Linked DNA regions of Homo sapiens: all the other regions are linked to region 3. Evidence: promoter capture Hi-C in 16 types of primary human blood cells and fetal thymus (Javierre and others, 2016). All regions are on one chromosome and are shown on one strand. The core of a region is centred on a gene start or on the middle of the fragment in contact, and the rest is flanking DNA. Distances in the headings are between cores, read along the strand shown.

Evidence for each region. The method cuts DNA at HindIII sites, captures the fragments that hold promoters and counts their contacts. A CHiCAGO score of 5 or more calls a contact.
Region 1: a fragment that was not itself captured here is called in contact with the fragment with the promoter of AIPL1 in region 3 in 1 of 17 cell types (M1 macrophages); the score reaches 5.9 in M1 macrophages.
Region 2: a fragment that was not itself captured here is called in contact with the fragment with the promoter of AIPL1 in region 3 in 1 of 17 cell types (M0 macrophages); the score reaches 6.3 in M0 macrophages.
Region 4: a contact is called between a fragment that was not itself captured here and the fragment with the promoter of AIPL1 in region 3, in 1 of 17 cell types (M1 macrophages). The highest score is 5.2, in M1 macrophages.
Region 5: a contact is called between a fragment that was not itself captured here and the fragment with the promoter of AIPL1 in region 3, in 12 of 17 cell types (M1 macrophages, M2 macrophages, total CD8 T cells and 9 more). The highest score is 12.4, in M1 macrophages.
Region 6: a contact is called between a fragment that was not itself captured here and the fragment with the promoter of AIPL1 in region 3, in 12 of 17 cell types (total CD8 T cells, activated CD4 T cells, naive B cells and 9 more). The highest score is 11.2, in total CD8 T cells.
Region 7: a fragment that was not itself captured here is called in contact with the fragment with the promoter of AIPL1 in region 3 in 17 of 17 cell types (total CD8 T cells, naive CD4 T cells, naive CD8 T cells and 14 more); the score reaches 19.3 in total CD8 T cells.

What each region holds. Positions count from the first base shown.
Region 1 is chr17:5,451,904-5,454,603 of GRCh38, reverse strand. DHX33 (DEAH-box helicase 33) reads left to right here. Exons shown (of 12, transcript NM_020162.4): 7 at 624-783; 8 at 936-1,024. Among named protein-coding and RNA genes, the nearest start is that of C1QBP, 14 kb to the right of the region's middle. The HindIII fragment of the contact is 6,981 bases long and covers 1-2,700 here.
Region 2 is chr17:5,479,785-5,482,729 of GRCh38, reverse strand. It overlaps DERL2 (derlin 2), which reads left to right. Exons shown (of 7, transcript NM_016041.5): 4 at 1,341-1,434; 5 at 2,148-2,343; 6 at 2,586-2,676. Among named protein-coding and RNA genes, the nearest start is that of DERL2, 4.9 kb to the left of the region's middle. The HindIII fragment of the contact is 363 bases long and covers 1,495-1,857 here.
Region 3 is chr17:6,433,871-6,436,627 of GRCh38, reverse strand. AIPL1 (AIP like 1 HSP90 co-chaperone) reads left to right here and starts at 1,507. Exons shown (of 6, transcript NM_014336.5): 1 at 1,507-1,619; 2 at 2,530-2,709. The coding sequence starts at 1,524. The HindIII fragment of the contact is 8,305 bases long and covers 1-2,757 here.
Region 4 is chr17:5,510,520-5,513,442 of GRCh38, reverse strand. It overlaps LOC101928044 (zinc finger CCHC domain-containing protein 9-like), which reads left to right and starts at 717. Exons shown (of 1, transcript XM_047437231.1): 1 at 717-1,491. The coding sequence starts at 816. The coding sequence ends at 1,403. It also overlaps a transcript of NLRP1 not described here. The HindIII fragment of the contact is 2,014 bases long and covers 421-2,434 here.
Region 5 is chr17:5,526,755-5,529,454 of GRCh38, reverse strand. The region is part of intron 12 of NLRP1 (NLR family pyrin domain containing 1); the gene reads left to right. The region is part of intron 1 of LOC124903902 (a long non-coding RNA gene); the gene reads right to left. Among named protein-coding and RNA genes, the nearest start is that of MIS12, 42 kb to the right of the region's middle. The HindIII fragment of the contact is 1,603 bases long and covers 485-2,087 here.
Region 6 is chr17:5,561,302-5,564,272 of GRCh38, reverse strand. The region is part of intron 3 of NLRP1 (NLR family pyrin domain containing 1); the gene reads left to right. Among named protein-coding and RNA genes, the nearest start is that of NLRP1, 22 kb to the left of the region's middle. RefSeq lists an enhancer at 2,173-2,674. The HindIII fragment of the contact is 5,112 bases long and covers 1-2,971 here.
Region 7 is chr17:5,602,017-5,604,884 of GRCh38, reverse strand. No RefSeq gene overlaps it. Among named protein-coding and RNA genes, the nearest start is that of NLRP1, 19 kb to the right of the region's middle. The HindIII fragment of the contact is 1,223 bases long and covers 993-2,215 here.

The DNA.
Region 1 (2,700 bases), core at 103-2,602, 980 kb after region 3:
AAACATTTGAGGGTCCTGGCTTCCACAGGTGTATCTTTTTGTGATGACGTAGGTGAAAGAGCTTGGGTCTCCAGTGCCAGGCTAATGATACACCTTTATCAAGAAAATGAACCTCATTTACTGCTAGAAAACAGACATCACATTATTTCTGTCTTACAGCAGAACTGGGAGGGAGGATAAAGCACACAAGTGATTTGAGGCATTTAATTTCGTAGTCATTGATTGATAGTATGACCCCCATCCTAGTTTGCTGAAACTCCCAGTTTTAGCACCCAAAATCCGACATCCCAGGAAACCCTCTGTCCCAAGCAAACTGGAGGGGTTGGCCATCCTACCATCTAAGGCAAGACCTCGGAAACTACTCTTCTCGCCCCTTGCTGCATGCGTGAGGTTTTTCTGATGTTTTTGTAACAGATTTCACAGTGGGCTTATGGCAAAGCCTTGTTTCACTAGGGCCAAACCGCTGCGGAGCAGTCTGGTTTTGTGCTGTCCATTGTGCTAGCCTTGAGGCTTTCTGGACCCCCGTGTTGCTGAAAGAACCACTGGTGTGCTTCTTTTTATCGACACTGTAGAAAGAGTTTGTTCATGTGATGAAGCACTAATGGGGCTCACTCTCCATCCAGACAGTGGTCTTGAGGTGTTAGCAGTGCAGCGGGTATCGAAGACGCAGGCTTGGCAGCGCACAGGGAGGGCTGGCAGAGAGGACAGTGGCATCTGCTACCGGCTCTACACGGAGGACGAGTTTGAGAAGTTTGATAAGATGACCGTGCCAGAGATCCAGAGGTAGGCACCAGTTGCTCCTGCACTGCTGCTGTTTGTCACCATGTCTCTCCTGCTTGCCCAGAGCTGCAGTTTTTACTCACACTCCACCATGAGGGGTTCTGACTCAATGGCAGAGGGATCAGGTCATGACCCTGGTCTCATGCTCTTCACAGGTGTAACCTGGCCAGTGTGATGCTTCAGCTTCTAGCAATGAAAGTCCCAAATGTGCTCACCTTTGACTTCATGTCGAAGCCATCTCCAGGTAAGTGAAATCCACAGTTTTGCAGAAGGTGGGTGAGGAGACAAACAACAACAAATGGACACTTCCAAAAAAATAAAGTATATTGGTCATCTCCTTTTGTTTATTTAATTTTGTGGATGACAACATTAGTTATTAGAGAAGCATCTGAAAATCATGAAATGATAGATAGATACATTGATTGACTTTTAAAGAGACAGGGTCTCACTGTGTGGCCCAGGTGGAGGTGCAGTGACTATTCACAGGCTCCATCACAGCCTCCAACTCCTGGGCTCCAGCGATCCCCCCGCCTCAGCCTCCCAAGTAGCTGGGACCACAGGCATGCGCCAGTGTTCCTAGCTATGAAACGATAGATTCTGTACTATCAGCACCATCAATAAAGTTCCTTGACCTCTGGAACCAGTGAAGGTCATCATGCGAGTCCTTGGGATACTACAGAAATGTAATGAAATTGTACTTTTATCAGCACAGGGACTGCAAAGATCACATTTCTTTGCCTTTAACTGGAATTTGATCCATCTCTCCTGTTCATTAGTAATTTCTCTACAGAAGAAGAAAATAATTGGAAATATTTATGATATTGGCTTTGGCACCTGGCCTCTCATCAACGCACCATTTTCCTTTTCTTTTTATTGCCCCCCCTTTTCTTAAGAAATGCAATTGGTTTAAAAAAGAAGGAAAGAAAACACAAAGTCACCAGTTGATGGGTATACAAGGGTCCTGCCCTGATCCTCAGGTTCACAGTTTCCTTCCCCTAGAACAACCACTGGAACCATTTTCTAGTAGACTTCTAGAGCAAATGTATGCATATATGAGTATATGTAGTGTGTTTGATTTTATTTATGTATTTATTTATTTATTTTTGAGACAGGGTCTCACTCTGGTTGTCCAGGCTGGAGTGCAGTGGCACATTCTCAGCACACTGCAGCCTCAACCTCCCGGGCTCAGGTGATTCTCCCACATCAGCTTCCCAAGTAGCTGGGACTACAGGTGTGAGCCACCAAGCCCCTGCTGTAGTATGTTTTTGTTTTTGTTTTTGTTTTGAGACAGGGTCTCACTCTGTTGCCCAGGCTGGAGTGCAGTGGTGCGATCCCAGCTCACTGCAACCTCCACCTGCCGGGTTCAGGTGATTCTCCTGCCTCAGCCTCCCGAGTAGCTAGGACTACAGGTGTGCACCACCATGCCCGGCTAATTTTTGTATTTTTTAGTATAGATGGAGTTTCACTATGTTGACCAGGCTGGTCTTGAACTCCTGACCTAGGTGGTCCGCCCACCTCGGTCTCCCAAAGTGCTGGGATTACAGGCGTGAGCCACCACGCCCAGCCTGTAGTATGTTTTAAAACACAAATAGCAACACACATTGAGTATTGTTCTGTGCTTGATTTTTTTTCTTTCATTGCTAAATTCTTACATACAAATGAAGAAGATACATAAGGTGTAAGGAATGGTTAAAATCTAACACCTGTGTACCCAATTGAAGCCCCCAGGAGTCCCCCCCACCCACTTGCCCTCGCCTCCTTCCACTCTTTTGGGGTACCCACTCTTCCATATTTTGTTTGTAATTGCCTTGCTTTTCTTCACTGTTTTACTATATGCGTATGTATCCCTAAACCACCTGTTGTTTGTAAGTTTATGTTAGTTATTCTTGAGTAAGCGGTTTTCATTCAGCTTGTTCCGTA
Region 2 (2,945 bases), core at 427-2,926, 950 kb after region 3:
ACTTGTTTTTGGTACCATCTTAGCTATGATTTCTGGGTCAGTGGTACATAAAGTAGTTGCTTAGGTAGTAATGTTTTGAAAATGTCTGTAGGTCACTTTGTTCAAATGGGAGGTTTTAACCATAAAAAGATAGCACTTCTGCTCTTTTGTTACTTACAAATCTGATCAAGGGAGGGGAGAATTGATTTAACTGAGGCATACCTCCACAGTAACCAACAGGTTCGAAGCCGTAAAACAACCTGAATGCAATGGTAATTCAGCAGAATTTGGGCATAAGTTTTGGAATGGGTTCATGAGGAGTGGGAACCTGAGATCTCCTTGGGTCCTGGTTGCTGGAACTACTGGCTGAAAGACAGTGGTTGTGTCTGCTGGGCTTGTCAAGTTCCGGTTTGTTGAAAGGAAAACCCCAGCTCTGATCCAATGGTAATTGGGGCCACAGAGCAGGGCATTCCTCTTCCACCCCTGCCCTCTGTATTAAGAGGGAGTTACAGTTCAACTCATCTGCAGCTGCATTCCTTCCTGAGGATGGCAGGAATCCATTTTATATCCTATGTAGGATATCATTCTGATAAGTTTCCATTAAAGTTTTTTCTCATCGTAATTCATCTTTATTGACTGAGGTGCTCAACCTGCCAGGCTGGAAAAGTAGTTGAGCACACAAGGCTTCTTGCTGCGGATTTCTTCCAAGTTAGGATGTGGGAAAGCAAAGATGGTGCATATTAAGGTGTGGCTGAGCACAGGAAAGACAATACAAATTTTTAAAGGTTTAATAGGGGACTGGAGGGCCGGGTGTGGTGGCTCACACCTGTAATCCCAGCACTTGGGGAGGCCAAGGCAGTGGATCACGAGGTCAGGAGTTTGAGACCAGCCTGGCCAACATGGTGAAACCTGCTCTCTACTAAAAATACAAAAAATAGCCTGGCATGGTGGCACACAACTGTAATCCCAGCTACTCAGGAGAATGAGGCAGGAGAATCGCTTGAATCTGAGAGGCGGAGCTTGCAGTGAGCCGATATGGCACCATTGCACTCCATCCTAGGTGACAGAGCGAGACTCTGTCTCAAAAGAAAAAAAAAAAAGAATAGGGGACTGAAAGCATGTCTGTGTGTCATCTGGATTAGTTCCCAGCCAGGGACAGTTTGTAAAAAATGATGCTGGTCTTGACCTTTTCTCAAATGCTTGGTAAAAAAGTAATCACATTACCACTCAAACATTCTTATACAAATGAAGACTTGACTAATTACAAATAATATGGAATCCAAGTGTACTTACAAGATAACATTAAATTTTTACTTTGTTCATATTCGTGTGCTTAATATTTTCTTAACTTGGAACTTAAGATATCGTTACTGTCGAATGCTAGAAGAAGGCTCTTTCCGAGGTCGGACAGCAGACTTTGTATTTATGTTCCTTTTTGGTGGATTCTTAATGACCGTATCCTTCAACAAACAACACGGGAAAATGTTGAAGAACACCCTGGCTCTTCCTAAAGCTTGTCATCTGTCTCCCACAGTTCTCTAGATCTTAGCTTCAGGGCACTATCATTTATTTTACAGCACATTTTCTGTGACAAGTTTCCAAACCTAGCAGTCGGACAGGATGAGCAAGTCAAAGGAACTTTTAACCCAGGTGGGTTACTGTTAAGCAACTCAGTTATATCATTACTGCTTGGCGTACTTCACTTTTAAACTAAGTTGGTAAGACATTTACTTGGTGGCTACCAAAACCAATAAATTATTTTTTCAGAAAAAGAATTTTCATCTATACAATAGACTTAGATATGGTACGGTCTGACAAGATGGTTTTGTTCCAGCTAGCTTTATTCATCTCTGTAAAGGTGCTAATCGTGAGCAAGCTTTAATATAATTATTGACTGAAGAATTAACACATTTTCCAAAGAGGCAAGAACTTCACGAAAGCAGAGTATTTGTTTGAAGTAGCTGTAAATCTCGATAATTTAGCCTAAGCAGATTTTTGCCTGATTGCTCTGGGTAATTATTTTCTGGGTGTTTCTCCTTCTATTCTAAAGATGTAACAACTTGACTTTTCCAATTCAAACTTCTGTTAGAACACAATCTTTAGTTCTCCTGCTCAGTCTTTCCTATTAAACTTTTAATGTTGATATTTTCCTTAATGCCATCTGCTAGCTTTTTGGTCTGTTTGTGAGCTTAGTTTTCTTGGGCCAGGCCTTTACAATAATGCTCGTCTATGTGTGGAGCCGAAGGAACCCCTATGTCCGCATGAACTTCTTCGGCCTTCTCAACTTCCAGGCCCCCTTTCTGCCCTGGGTGCTCATGGGATTTTCCTTGTTGTTGGGGAACTCAATCATTGTGGACCTTTTGGGTAAGGCTCTTCTCACTATTTTTTAAATTATTTTACCTGTAAAAGTATTTTGTTACTATTTTTCATGTTTATTCTGTTTGGCCTTCACGTATTACCTATTGTAAAATACCACAATATTAGTTCATTAATTTTTAATAATTATGTTGACATTCATCCTAAATATAGGCAATTTGTGTTGGTAGGTCTACCTGCAATCTAAATTTTAATTCTCTCCCTCATCCTTTATTTCTGCTTGACTCTAGGTATTGCAGTTGGACACATATATTTTTTCTTGGAAGATGTATTTCCCAATCAACCTGGTGGAATAAGAATTCTGAAAACACCATCTATTTTGTGAGTATTTAACACCAGGTTACATACTCTTACAGGCAAACCAGGACAGGGGCATGATCTGTGTTTTCTTTGGCTCCCCTAGCTCCTAGTACACATAGCTCAGGTCAGTAACCATTTGCAGATTGAGCATTCTGGCTACAGTTGAAGAGCACTTGGACTGGGTAGGAGCAGACAGTGCCAGGGTTGTGGCAAGACCAACGTCAACAGGCTCAAGATATCTTGGGAGTAACCTGGTAATTGTTAGAGATGACCACTAGAACTTCTATTCT
Region 3 (2,757 bases), core at 258-2,757:
TTGGCTCCCAAAGTCCTAGGATTACAGCCATGAGCCACTGCACCCAGCCTAGTCTAGCATTTTTTGTTTTGTTTTGTTTTTTTGAGACAGAGTCTCGCTGTGTTGCTCAGGCTGGAGTGCAGTGGCACGATCTCAGCTCACTGCAACCTCCGCCTCCCGGGTTCAAGCGAGGCTCCTGCCTCAGCCTCCTGAGTAGCTGGGATTACAGGTGCGCACCACCATGCCTGGGTAATTTTTGTATTTTTAGTACAGACTACTAAAAATACAAAACTCCTGACCTCAGGTGATCCACCTACTTCAGCCTCCTTAGTCCCGTGTTTTTATCTCTCCCTGTAGCAGAGTCCTGCACCCCTTCCCTCTGCAACCGGTGAGCCTGGTGTCAGGAAGAGAATGGTTTCGTGGAGCTGAGTCCAGTGCCCTCAGGGTGCGGAGGTGTAGGAGCTTGAACTGGCCACACGGTGGTGCCAAACACCAGGTCTTCGCATTTATGTTTCCCAGCCCTTCTGGGCGTCCCTGATGCCCTCAATAAACTCTGCCTGGTTCCCAGGGCACAGGGCTAAGGGCCTCCAAAGGGGAGGGGAGGGGAGGGGAGGGGAGGGGATACCCACCCTTCCCCCAGCCAGACCTTGCAGGGGAGGCAGGAGCGGGGCTGCGGAGGGCGCCTCAACTTTACCCAAACCCACCCCGCCTTTCGTTCTCCGTCTTCCTTCTCTCCCAAGCCAGAAACCTGTCCCCTCTTGCCTTGGGCCACCATCGCAGGGCCTCCTGAAGGCAGATTCTGGGGAGGGGAGGGGGAACAGGGAAAGCAGAAAGGTGGCTGGATGGCAAAGGGCAGCTGTCACCCCGGCTGGCCTGGGGTCCTCGGGGACTTAGAGTCTGGGCCCAGCCCATGCCTCCCCTCCTTTTCCCCTTCAGTGGCCTCCAGGCCTCTCTCCACATCGCCAGGCTGGAGTGCAGTGGCGCTATCTTGGCTCACTGCAACCTCCGCCTCCCGGGTTCAAGCGATTCTCCTGCTTCAGCCTCCCGAGTAGCTGGAACTACAGGCGCCCGCCACCACCCCCGGCTAATTTTTGTATTTTTAGTAGAGATGGGGTTTCACCATATTAGCCAGGATGGTCTCGATCTCTTGACCTTGTGATCTGCCCGCCTCGGCCTCCCAAAGTGCTGGGATTACAGGCGTGAGTCACCGCGCCTGGTCCCCTGTCTTCTTTAAGAAAGCTCAGCGGACCTTTTTCCTTCTTGGGGTGGAACAAAAAGCCAAATCTAGCACAACCCTGGGCAGGGGCCCAGAATCACTGGAAGCAAAGGTGGATGGGATAGGAGGCGAGGCTGCCTGTGGACCACAGGCCCGGCCCGAGTGGCTCTGATGAGAAGCCGGGGCGCCTAGGTCACCGCCCCCACCGTCTGCCCTTCCCCCCACTCCTCCTGGCTGGGTAAATCCCAGAGTCTCAGCCGCCTAAGTGTCTTCCCCGGAGGTGAGATTATCTCCGCCTGTGCTGGACACCTCCCTTTCTCCTGCAGCCATGGATGCCGCTCTGCTCCTGAACGTGGAAGGGGTCAAGAAAACCATTCTGCACGGGGGCACGGGCGAGCTCCCAAACTTCATCACCGGATCCCGAGTGAGTGGGGCCCCTCCGGAGCAGACAGGGTCCCCCACAGCAGCTTTCAACATTCCAGGTGTGCCCCAAGGCACTGTAAACAGCTTTCAGCTGTGCCAAAAAAACAGCCAGGCAGCCCCAGCGCTGGGCCTCCGGGGAGCTCCCAGCGTTTACCCATTCAGGGGGCATTTTTGGTACTTTGCAGATTCAACTTTAGCATGGGCTGAGGGGAAGGGCTTTTGGGAATTTTCTGGGGCCCTAAATGTTGAGTGAGAAGAAAGGGAGTCCGAGGAGTCTTGGTATTTGTCCCCAAATGTCTGTTAGGCTTCCCTGGACTGAAGGGTGCGTCTGTGGCTACAGAATTCGGGCTTTGGCCAGGCGAGGCGGCTCCCGCCTGTAATCCCAGCACTTTGGGAGGCCAAGATGGGCAGATCATGAGGTCAAGAGTTCGAGACCAGCCTGACCAACATGTGAAACCCCATCTCTACTGAAAATACAAAAATTAGCCAGATGTGCTGGGCGCCTGTAATCCCAGTTCAGATACTCAGGAGACTGAGGCAGGAGAATCACTTGAGCCCAGGAGGTGGAGGTTGCAGTGAGCCGAGATCATACCACTGCACTCCAACCTGGGCAACAGAGTGAGACTCTGTCTCAGAAAAAAAAAAAAAAAAAAGAACTCGGGCTTACTTGAGGAAGGATTTCTGGACGCACAGGGCTGTGGGGAGTGGAATGGGGTCTGTAGGGAGGGGTGGGTCCCTCCTCCCTGGGGGGTGCAGGCAGGGTGGAGGTGCTCCAGGGGTCTGAGGCATCTGATGGGGTGAACTGAGTGAGCTGACCCTGGGGACAGCCCTGGGTGTCGGTGGCAAGGGGGTGGCTTCTGCCGGGCCTTGAACAGTGTGTCTAGAGCAGAGTGCACCGTCTCGGTGACTAGGTGATCTTTCATTTCCGCACCATGAAATGTGATGAGGAGCGGACAGTCATTGACGACAGTCGGCAGGTGGGCCAGCCCATGCACATCATCATCGGAAACATGTTCAAGCTCGAGGTCTGGGAGATCCTGCTTACCTCCATGCGGGTGCACGAGGTGGCCGAGTTCTGGTGCGACACCATCGTAAGTAGGCCCTGCGCGCCTGTCTCCTGGGACTAGTCTTTTCTGGGC
Region 4 (2,923 bases), core at 178-2,677, 920 kb after region 3:
CCTAGTGATAATTCATAAAATACTTAAGCCCAGTTTTAAAGAAGAGATCAAAGCCAAGCATGGTGGCTCATGCATGTAATCTTAACACTTTGGGAGGCCAAGGCAGGAGGATCACTTGAGCTCAGGCTTTTGAGACTAGCCCGGGCAACATAGACTTTGTCTCTTTAAAAAAATAAGAAAGAAAAAAATAAGAGATCAGATGCCATTTGGAATCTAAGTGAATAGGCTGGAAAACTAGTCTTCTGTTGTCTGAAATACAAAGCCAAACAGATTTTTAATAAGAGAGATTTTTATGAGAACAGAAGAAAAAAAGGTTAATGCTGGACACAGTCTATCCAGGTATTAGACTCAAAAGCATCTTTAGTTATAAAGCAGGAAAGTGGTGGCAATCTGACACGCCTGTATCACAAGGTATAAGCTTTAGCTTGCAGGGCCTCAGGAGAAAGCTAGTAGTAATTTTACTGTATGCAGATCTCTAAGCTGGGGGTGACACAGGAGGTGGGCAGGACTGGCTTCACAAGATGCAGGTCACAAAGACTCCACTGATAAGATGCGGTAAAGAAGCTGGCCAAAGCCCACCAAAGCCAAGATGGCAATGAAAGGGACTCCTGGTTGTCCTCACTGCTCATTATATGCTAATTTTCACCCTCCTGTAGGACCAGCTCCAGCAGTTGTGGGACCCAGTGCAAAATGGAAACACAGGGCCCCTCGTTCAAAAATGATAAGAATGTCAAGACGGTGACAACAGAACATGAAATCAAGCGCCAGGCCCTGCTGAGCTCAGGGCTCTGTGTGACCGCACAGGTCACACACCCATGAGACTGGCCTTGTCTTTCGGGTCCTTCACGCCCCACCCACCCATCTCCTTTACCACATGCAGACCTCCACTCTCCACACAACCCTTCCTCCAAGAGGACAGTCAATGGGAAGTAAGAAGATTTAAAAGACAAGGGGCAAAGAAAAATGCAATGGTGTGTTTCCATTGTAGAAAACCTGGTCGTGGAATTGCGGATTGCCCTGCCGCCCTTGAAAATCAAGATATGGGCACTAGAAGATGTTACAAGTGTGGGTCCACAGATCACGAAATAACCAAGTGTAAGGCTAAAGTAGACCCGCCTCTTGGCGAATGTCCTTTTGCAGAATGTTTTGTCTGTGGAGAAATGGGGCACCTGTCTAGATCTTGTCCTGATAATCCCAAAGGACTCTATGCTGATGGTAGTGGTTGCCAACTTCATGGCTCTGTGGAACATTTAAAGAAAGATTGCCCTGAAAGTGAGAATTCAGATCGAATGGCCACAGTTGGTCTGTGGGCAAAGGGAATAAGTGCAGACTATGAAGACATTGTGGATGCACCAAAACCACAAAAACCCAAAACAAAAATACCTAAAGGTGTTAATTTTTGATAACAACTAGTACTGTCATTAGTTACCACCTCATTGTTACTTTCTAAACCAGGCCCACTTCACAAGTTACAGCTGGGCTCCCTTGTAGCCAGGACTATACTGTAAATATCAGTATGATCTGGGTGTGGTCAAAAACAATTTTCAACAGAGAGAAAGAAGAAAGAAGAGAGAGAAAGAAAAAGGAAGAGAAAGAGGAAGAGGAAGGAATGAAGAAAAAGAGGAAGGAAGGAAGGAAAGAGAGAAAGGAAAGAGAAAGAAAGAAGAAAGAGAAAGAGAAAGAAAAAGAAAAGAGAAAGGGAGGGAGGGAAAGAAGGAAGGACCTACGCGAGGAGGGGCTCCGCCAACCCTCTAAGCCCCGCAACCCCCGCATGCCCCGCCTCCTTCTGCAGACCTCCCCGTCCCTCATCCCAGCAAGTCCTCACGTTAGTTGCCGGAAGCCTAGGAAATGTATTCCTAAATCTGGAGTCGTCTCCATGGCAGCGAGCCCCGAAGTGGAGCCAGTCTTGGAGTAGGAGAAAGGCCAGACACAAACAAGTGTGTGGGGATGGGGGAGACACACATGCATGTCCGCTTTGGATCCAGATTCTCTTTTTTTTTTTTAGACGGAGGCTCGCTCTGTCGCCCAGGCTGGAGTGCAGTGGCGCAATCTCAGCTCACTGCACTCACTGCAACCTCCACCTCCCGGGTTCAAACGATTCTCCTGCCTCAGCCTCCCGAGTAGCTGGGATTACAGGCGCCCACCACCACACCCGGATAAATTTTTGTATTTTTAGTAGAGACGGGGTTTCACCATGTTGGCCAGGCTGGTCTCGAACTCCTGGCATCAAGTGATCCGCCCGCCTCGGCCTCCTAAAGTGCTGGGATTACAAGTGTGAGCCACCGTGCCCGGCCTGGATCTGGATTCTAATAGCAACAGCTAGAATTCTGAGGGACAGGCAGTGAGCTGGGAATCAAATTCTTGGCTCTACCACCCATTAGATGTGTGATCTTGAAACAGGTTTTCAGATGTGTAAGAAGGGAATAGCAAAGCTTGCGTCAAACGGTTGTTTGACTAGGTGAGCTCATGAGTGGGAAGTTGTTCTGGGCGAGCTGGTACACAACACTAGGCAGACAGTAAATCTTAGCTTCTTTGAGCCTGAGGCTGTTGTAGGTGCCAGTGATAACAGAGGCCAGAGTATCTATTCTCAAGCAATTTATATTCTAGTGGCAAGGAGATACGAAATACGCACCCATGTCTGTAATCCCAGCACTTTGAGAGGCGAAGGCCTGAAGATCTATTGAGACCAGGAGTTTGAGACCAGGAGTTCAAGACCAGCCTGGGCAACATAGCAAGACCCCGTCTCTTAAAAAAAAAAATTTTTTTTCATTTTTTTGGCCAGATGCAGTGGCTCATGCCTGTAATCCTAGCACTTTGGGATGTCAAGGCGGACGGATCACCTGAGGTTAAGAGTTTAAGAGTTCAAGACCAGCCTGGCCAACATGGTGAAACTCTGTCTCTACAAAAATACAAAAATTAGCTG
Region 5 (2,700 bases), core at 37-2,536, 910 kb after region 3:
TGGAGCTTGCAGTGAGCCAAGATCGCACCACTGCACTCCAGCCTGGGCCACAGAGCGAGACTCTGTCTCAAAAAAAAAAAAAAAAGAATAAACAATCAAGTAACTTGTAGGATACCATGATAAGTCCTAATATATATCTAAATGGAATTCCAGAAAGATAAGATAGAAGGGAAAAAAATAGAATATTCAACAAGACAATTGCAAACAAATTTCTGGAAGTATTGAGACATATGAGACTTCTCAGAATGAGAATCCCCAAAACTGCAATGCAGGAAAGAGAGAGAGAAGGGAGAGAAAAAATCAAGATTAGTCTCATTAATGTGAAACTACAGAATAAGAAAGTATGAGGGAAAGCCTTGACATCAGCCAGAAAGAAAGGGTTATAGGTGTGAGCCACTGTGCCCAGCCAATGTCTGTCAATTTAGTGAGCAAGTTAGAAGAATCTGATGTGTCCCCATGTCAAATCATGACTCCAATAGAAGCTTCATTTAATTGCTGATAAAATGATTTGATAAACAATTTATGTTATAGCTTACATCAGTTATAAGCACTTTTATGATTTGTACAGTTTAGCTAGATATTAAATGGGTTTTTAATATTTTTTCTTGTCTTAATTTCTTTATTTCCCAGGAATAGAGGTAAATGAGAATTTATTTTTAATTTCTCATTTGTTAGTTGATATGTTGTAGTATCATCCCAGTAGTTCAATGTATTTTTAGTATCACCTCAAAATAAAGGTATTAACTTTACAGTATGCATATATTAAGGTAATCAAGGCATATATATAAGAAAAATTATTTAGAAGCTAGTAGAAAGAGAAAAATCAAATGAGAAAAATAAAAAGCAGGGAACTGCTCAGTACCCAGAACCAGGAAAGTCTTGTTTGTTGAGGCCACAAAAGTTCAGTAAACAATTCAAGCTGCACACCAGGAGGAGAGCATGGGGCAGGGAAATAGAGTCCCGGGGGCCTCAGGATCCCTGGGGCACCTGGTTGAACAGTCAGGGTCATATGGGCATTCCCTAGGGAAGGTCCCAGACTAAAACAGAATAGAGGGAAGAGGTGCAAGACAGCTCTGGAATTGTAGAGGTCCATTTAGAAAGGAAGAGATTGAGGAGAGGAAACTGATGGCTGAAACAAGAAGCTGGGACAAGTTACTTGTTCCCACCGGGCAATCTATAGAGTAATGAACACAGCCACTACCACAACCAGCCTGCCTCTTCCACAAGTGAGACCGTGGCCAGGGATCCCCAGGTACTCTATCAAGAAGAGAGGGGCCTGGCTAATAGAGTCAGTGGGCTCAGCTCTGTCGTAGCTCTGCCCATGACCAGCAGCAAAAGAACTTGGCTTGCCCCAACCTGGGATGCTCAGGGCTGCACCACCACTCCCTGCTCTAACCAGGGTATTCCAGGAGAAACCTCATGCAGCTAAGGTCTGGAGCCAGAATGTACCACCAGGGCCCGAGGGGACAAAGTCTGCCTTCAGGTCCTGCTCCAGCGCCCCCTCATTCCCCACTCTCAGAGGTGGATGAGCTGGCCCTCCCCATTGTGAGGACTCCCAGGCCATGCCCTGCTCAGTCTCCTGCGTGCATCAAGTGGGCCTGGGAGACGGGATTTGTCCAAGGAATTGGGTGACCCTCCGAGTGCACAGGCATCTAGCTGAAGCCTGCCAGGCTGACAGCCAAATCAGAATAGGAATGAATTCACTGTGCTTGTGGCACTGTCCTTTGTGGCACTGGAACTTGGCCAATAAGAACTGTGAACAATAACTGAGCATCCTGTGCCTGGAACCATGCAAGGTAGTTCCGTATATATTAATATCATCTCTTTTTTCATAATGAACCGGGAAATTAGGCACTACAGTTTTCCCTTGGTGTACCAGTGAGGAAACTGAAGCCGAGAGAGGTGAAGACCCTCTTCCAGAGTTGGGATTCTATCCCAAGTCCTGTTTATCCCAGGCTAAGAGCTACACCCCTACCCCTCCCCAGTCCTGCCCAAGCCCATGTCCCACTAGCCTTCTCTAGACCAAATTCTGAGCCTCACCTTGTGGCCAGATAGGATTTACTCCCTTTGGACTCCGTACACAAGCTTGTACAACCTGCGGCCTGTGGGCCACATGCGGCCCAGGATGGCTTTCGATGAAGCCCAACGTGAATTCGTAAACTTTCTTAAAACATTATGAGACTTTCTTGCGAATTTTTTAAAGCTCACCAGCTATCATTAGTGTTAGTATATTTTACATGTGTGGCCCAAGACAATTCTTCTTCTTCCAATGTGACCCAGGGAAGCCAAAAGATTGGACACCCCTGCCACAGAACAAGAGGCAAAATGCACAGAGGCTGCTTTTAGCTAGCTGTGACCAGCCAGGAAACCAATCCCTGGGGCCGGGCAGGGCCCCTTCCAGAAATGCTTGCTGCCTGCTGTCTGGGCTGCAGCTGTTCATTGCCCTGGAAACGATGACCTCACTGCCTGACACAGGGTCTGATTTAGGACTTGGGCACTGGTGCTTCATCACTGTCGTCGCTGAACGGGTGATGAGTCATTAACTTTCCATGGTGAGTTTTCTCCCACTATAGCTAGAGCTTGAGGCTTTCAGCCTCTCAGCTTCATCACCGTGGCAATGGGCATTCTCACCCTCCTGCAGGACCAGCTCCAGCAGTCATAGGGCCCAGCACAAAATGAAAGCGCGGAGCTCTTCATTCA
Region 6 (2,971 bases), core at 106-2,605, 870 kb after region 3:
CACAATAGGGTGACTATAGTCAATAATAAATTAATTGTATACTTTTTAATAACAAAGAATATAGTTGGATTGTTTGTAACTCAAAGGTTAAATGTTTGAGGAGCTGCATACCCCATTCTCCATGATGTGCTTATTTTACAGTGCTTACTTGTATCAAACCATCTCATGGATCCCCATAAATACATACACCTACTACATATCCACAAAATTTTTAAAAAATAATTTTAAAATTTTAAAAAAGAAAAGAAATTATTGGCTGGAATTTCTTTTCTTTAAGGATGCTGAATATAGGCCCCCAATCTCTTCTGCCTTGCAGGGCTTCTGCTGAAAAGTTCACTGTTAGCCTGATGAGGTTCCCTTTTTAGGTGACCTGCCCCTTCTGTGTCTAGCTGCCTTTATTGTTTTTTCTTTCATGTTGGCCTTGGAGAATCTGAGGACTTGGGGAATCTGAGAACTATGTGTTTTAGGGATGATTGTCTTGTATAGTATCTCACAAGGATTCTTTGCATTTCCTGAATTTAAATGTTGGCTTCTCTAGGGAGGTTGGGGAAACTTTTGTGGACAATATCTTCAAATACGTTTTCCAAGTTGCTGGCTTTCTCATGCTCTTTCAGGGATGCCAGCGAGTCATAGATTTGGTCTCTTTCCAAAATCCCATATTCCTCAGAGGTGTTGTTCATTTGTTTTCATTCTTTTTTATTTTTGTCTGACTGAGTTAATTTGGAGAACCAGTCTTCAGGCTCTGAGATTCTTTCCTCAGCTTGGTCTATCCTGTTGTTAATACTTGCTATTGTATTATGAAATTCTTGTAGTGAGATTTCCAGCTCTATCAGATCAGTTTGGTTCTTTCCTAAAATGACCATTTCGTCTTTCAGCTCCTGTATCATTTTATCATATTCCTTAGATTGCTTGGACTGGATTTTGACTTTCTCCTGAATCTCAATGATCTTCATTCCTACTCATATTCTGAATTCTATGTCTGTCATTTCAGCCATTTCAGCCTGTTAAAATACCATTGCTGAGGCACTAGTGCACACATCTGGAGATAGGAAGACACTGTGGCTTTTTGAGTTACCAGAGCTCTTGAGCTGGTTCTTTCTCGTGTGTGTGGGCTGATGTTCCTTTAATCTTTGAAGTTGTCTTCCTTTGGATGGGGTTTTTTTTGTTTTGTTTTTATCTTGTTTGAAGCCCTTGGGGGTTTGATTGTCGTATAAGGTGGGTTCAGTCAACTGGCTTCGATTCTGGAAGATTTCAGGTGGCCAAGGCTCAGCTCAGCACTCCTGAGCTGCCTGCTCTAACTCTAGAAGGCTGGTACTGGGTCCCCAGCCTTTTCCTCTGGCCTCCTGGGGTTCAGAACCTGCTGCATTAGAGGGGCCAAGGTGTTCCCAGTCCGCTGGCCTCAACAGTCCAGTGGGGGTGCAGGCCAAAGTGCTTCCTTGTGGCAGTGCCAGCAGGATCTGTGCTCACTCACACATGGCACCAGCCACAGTGGCATGGCAGGGTGCGTGTGTGTTGGCTGGGGCAGGGCACTGGTGGGAGCCTTTGCCTTAGTTTTCATGGCACTGAATACTGCAAAACATTTTGGTGTTGTATTTTGGGGCCGCCATCCAGTAGGCAGTGCTTAAGAGTGATCACCAGGAGATACACTCTTACTCTGCTGCGTGGTTCTTCATGTTTCAGTACAGTTGGCAGTAGTGTTCTGTGTGTGTTGGGGACAGGGGGGTGACCTTCTCACTTAGTCCACTCCTGGGCCTTAGACAAGACCCTTCTGATTACTGGCTCCACACCTGCATTTCTTTTGTTGGGTGTTCTGGTAAACGGGGTTCCTTCAGGCAGGGGCCGTGGTTGGCAGACAGGCCGTATCCTTGCTGGGTCCGCCCTGCAGAGAGAGGCATACCTCCTCCACCTCACTCCTCCACCAGCCTACAAACTCGGACATCTCACCTCTGTCAGTGATAAGAGAATGAGGGCTCTTCCCTGCTTGGGCATTGTCCAAACCAGCAAGTCCTGCTCAGCTAGGATCTGCAGAAGTGGGTGGGGTCACGTAATCAGCTGTCTGGGTGCTTCCCAGAGGAACAGGGGATGGCACCCACCCACAGAGTAGCGGGACTGCTGGGCTGGAAGCTCTAGCAGGTGTGGCCCATCTGGCTACCACAGGCAGAGGTGGTTGGAGTCACCCACCCTGCCATCTGGGTGTTTCCCTGGGCAGTAACAGGAGGCTGCACCCCTCAGCCGGATTCAGACAGAATTAGGACCACTGCGCTGGAAGCTCTAGCAGACATGGCCTGCATGGCTAGGAGAGGCGGTGGTGGGTGGAGTCACCCACCCTGCCTTCAGAGTGTTTCTCGGGGAACCGGGAGTTTGCCTCTGCTGGCTGAGTTCAGACAGAAGCAGACTGCTAGCAGACATTGCCCGCCTGGCTACCAGTGGCAGGGATGGGCAGAGTCACCCCCTCTGCTGTCCAAGTGGGGAACCTGAACAAAATAATATCCCAAAGAACAGTTTCATGGCAAGTATAAAAACCACATGGGGCCGGGCGCGGTGGCTCACGCCTGTAATCCCAGCACTTTGGGAGGCCGAGGCGGGTGGATCATGAGGTCAGGAGATCGAGACCATCCTGGCTAACAAGGTGAAACCCCGTCTCTACTAAAAATACAAAAAATTAGCCGGGCGCGGTGGCGGGCGCCTGTAGTCCCAGCTACTCGGGAGGCTGAGGCAGGAGAATGGCGTGAACCCGGGAAGCGGAGCTTGCAGTGAGCTGAGATTGCGCCACTGCAGTCCGCAGTCCGGCCTGGGCGACAGAGCGAGACTCCGTCTCAAAAAAAAAAAAAAAAAAAAAAAAAAAACCACATGGCATGCTTTTTGATCTATCAAGAGCAAAGGTAGGAAAACTTGTTTGAGTAAAAGACAAGATAGTAGGCTGGGTGCAGTGGCCCATGCCTGTAATCCCAGCACTTTGGGAGGCTGAGGC
Region 7 (2,868 bases), core at 355-2,854, 830 kb after region 3:
AGACTAAGCAAAAAGAGAGTACAGATGAGGGAATTGCAGAAAAAAGGACACTGGAGCCTTTGGATTAAGCTAACCTAAGACCATTGTACACATGGGCTTCACATTATATGAGCCAATAAATTTCCTTATTATTTAAACCAGTGTGAGTAAGGTTTTCTCCTATTTGCAGCCAAAGTCATCCCAATTGCTGTATCTCCTATCATAAAATGAAGAATGTCTCTTAAATGAATACACTTCCCACAATAACTTCACTCTGCAAGCGCTTCCCCCAACCTACCTGGTGACAAATTGAGGGCCCTAGTCAAGGAATGAGCACCTCACTCCCTCTGAGATAATGGATCTCTTCCCTGGGAATTTTTAAAATGTGTGTCCCAGAAGGTCAGTCTCTTTGGTGATTAAAGCTATAAGAAGTAAACCTCAGAACTGCATTGTGTCCTGCCACATGAAGAAAGTGATTCATTATGGAAACGGCAAATGAAACAAACATGTCCAAGAAGCAAGATATGGACAGAGAAAAGGACAGAGACACACATACAGTGAAAGACCTGTTGGCGTTAAAATCCCTGGTTCCAATAGTTCTTGAGACCCAGTTGCTTCCCTGACTGTCCCATAGCTTGACTAATCTACCCTTCCTAGGATACTCGAAGCCAACAAATTATCCTTCTCTTGCTTAAGTGTTTTTGAGGTTGGACCATTCTGTAATTTTCAGTCTGAAGTGATCTTTAAAATGTGCTCTACACTCCATCCCTTGATATCATCCTTGATGAACTCAGCATCCAAGATGATATCACTCTTGACATCCTGCTCTTACAGTTCTCCAGCCTCCTTAACTCCAGCAACATTCTCCTCTATATCACTGCCCCCAGGCCAGGGACCCTGCCATAACTCTGAACTCTTCCACCTCCAATGTCTCAGACAGAGCTGTGATGTCATACTCAATGCACAGATCTAGAGTCAGAAGCTCTTAAAGCTCTTGAAGGATGATTGAAGCTTAGAAATCAAACCTGCCTATTTTCGGCCAGGCATGGTGGCTCACGCCTATAATCCCAGCACTTCGGGAGGCCAAGGCGGGTGGATCACCTGAGGTCAGGAATTTGAGACCAACCTGGCCAACATAGTGAAACCCCATCTCTACTAAAAATACAAAAATTAGCCAGGCATGGTGGCGTGCACCTGTAGTCCCAGCTACTCTGGAGGCTGAGGCGGGAGAATCACTTGAACCTGGGAGGAGGAGGTTGCAGTGAGCTGAGATCGCACAACTGTACTCCAGCGTGGGCGATAGAGTGAGACTCATCTCCCTACAAATTCTGGACCAAGTGCTGCTCTTAGTGACACCCTGAGATCCCTTGAACCCATGCCCTACAGTCTTGTCCTCTATAGACAAAGACCTTGTCCTTTGACCTGTCTCTAATTCTCAGACCACTGAGCTCTGAGGGAAATTATGTGCCAGAGCTTCTCAGTCATTCAGTCCACAAACATTGATTGAGCACCAATGATATGGAGTTCACTGGTTGATTAGAGATCAAATCCAGCCCCTGCTTTTGCCAAGCTCTCAGTTTTATGGGGGATCCATACTATATATCACACATATTATACTGTGTGAATGCTATAAACAAATAGCATTCACACAGTGTATTAAGTCCTATGTTTTAAATGAGAGTATTATAATAGCCCAGTGGGGAAGTAGCCACTAGAGAAAGTGCCCTACAGTTGGTTAACTTCTGAGTTCAATTTTGAAGAACTAGTAAGAATTTGGGCTGGACACAGTGGCTCACGCCTATAATTCCAGCACTTCTGGGAGGCCAAGGCAGGCAGATCACCGGAGGTAAGGAGTTCAAGACCAGCCTGGCCAATATGGTGAAACCCCGTCTCTACTAAAAAATACAAAAATTAGCCAGGTGTGGTGGCGGGTGCCAGTAATCCCAGTCAGGAGGCTGAGGCAGGAGAATCACTTGAACCCAGGAGGTGGAGGTTGCAGTGAGCTGAGATCGTGCCACTGCACTGCAGCCTGGGCAACAGAGGGTCTCAAAAAAAAAATTTGGAGGCATAGGATACTGCAAGCAGAAAGTAAATGCAAAGTGACTAGAGTATTCATTCATAATTCAACAAATATTTATTGTGAACCTACTAAGTGGTAGGCATTATTACAAACACAGAGGATTCAGTGACTCAAACTCTACCTATTCCTGCTTTTTCCCAGACAAAACCCTAAGCTTCCCCTCACCAATGGGTATGAAAGACCGTGGCATATGTGGAGGACTATTTAATACCCTGGTCACCTGTGAATCTTCTCCCTCACACCAGCCACCAACTGCCATTGATTCATAGACCTTTATATTGGTAACACCTCCACTGTATCCATATTCAGTGGCATCTTGTTAATTTCAGTCAAGTGTGCCAAACTATCCACATTTTTTAAAATACCGAATAGCCATTCAGTGTGTTTATTATCACTTCCAGGTTTGCATTACCTGCAGTCAGTAAAGCATCTTCCTCAGCATCTTGATCATAAGATCAAGTATTATTCTGTGATGATAATACTCACAGAAGTATTAGACACATTGTGCTTGAAATTAAATTATCATCGCATGCCAGACACGTGGTGCTGACCAAGAAGGGTTGTCTCCTCACTGACATCAAATGATCCCCTCATTCGACAACCCAAATTTTGACTATGTGCTTGACACTGTTCTAGTGACAGATAGGTAGACATAACTAACTATGCTCTTGAAGTATTTTGTATCTAGACAGACTTAACAGAGAAGGCAGCTAGTAACCCTGACAAGAGAAGGCAGGAAATATTTCCGAAAAAAAAAAAAAGAGGTGGGGACATTTAGGCTAGCTCTTGGCAGATGCATAGGAGTATGC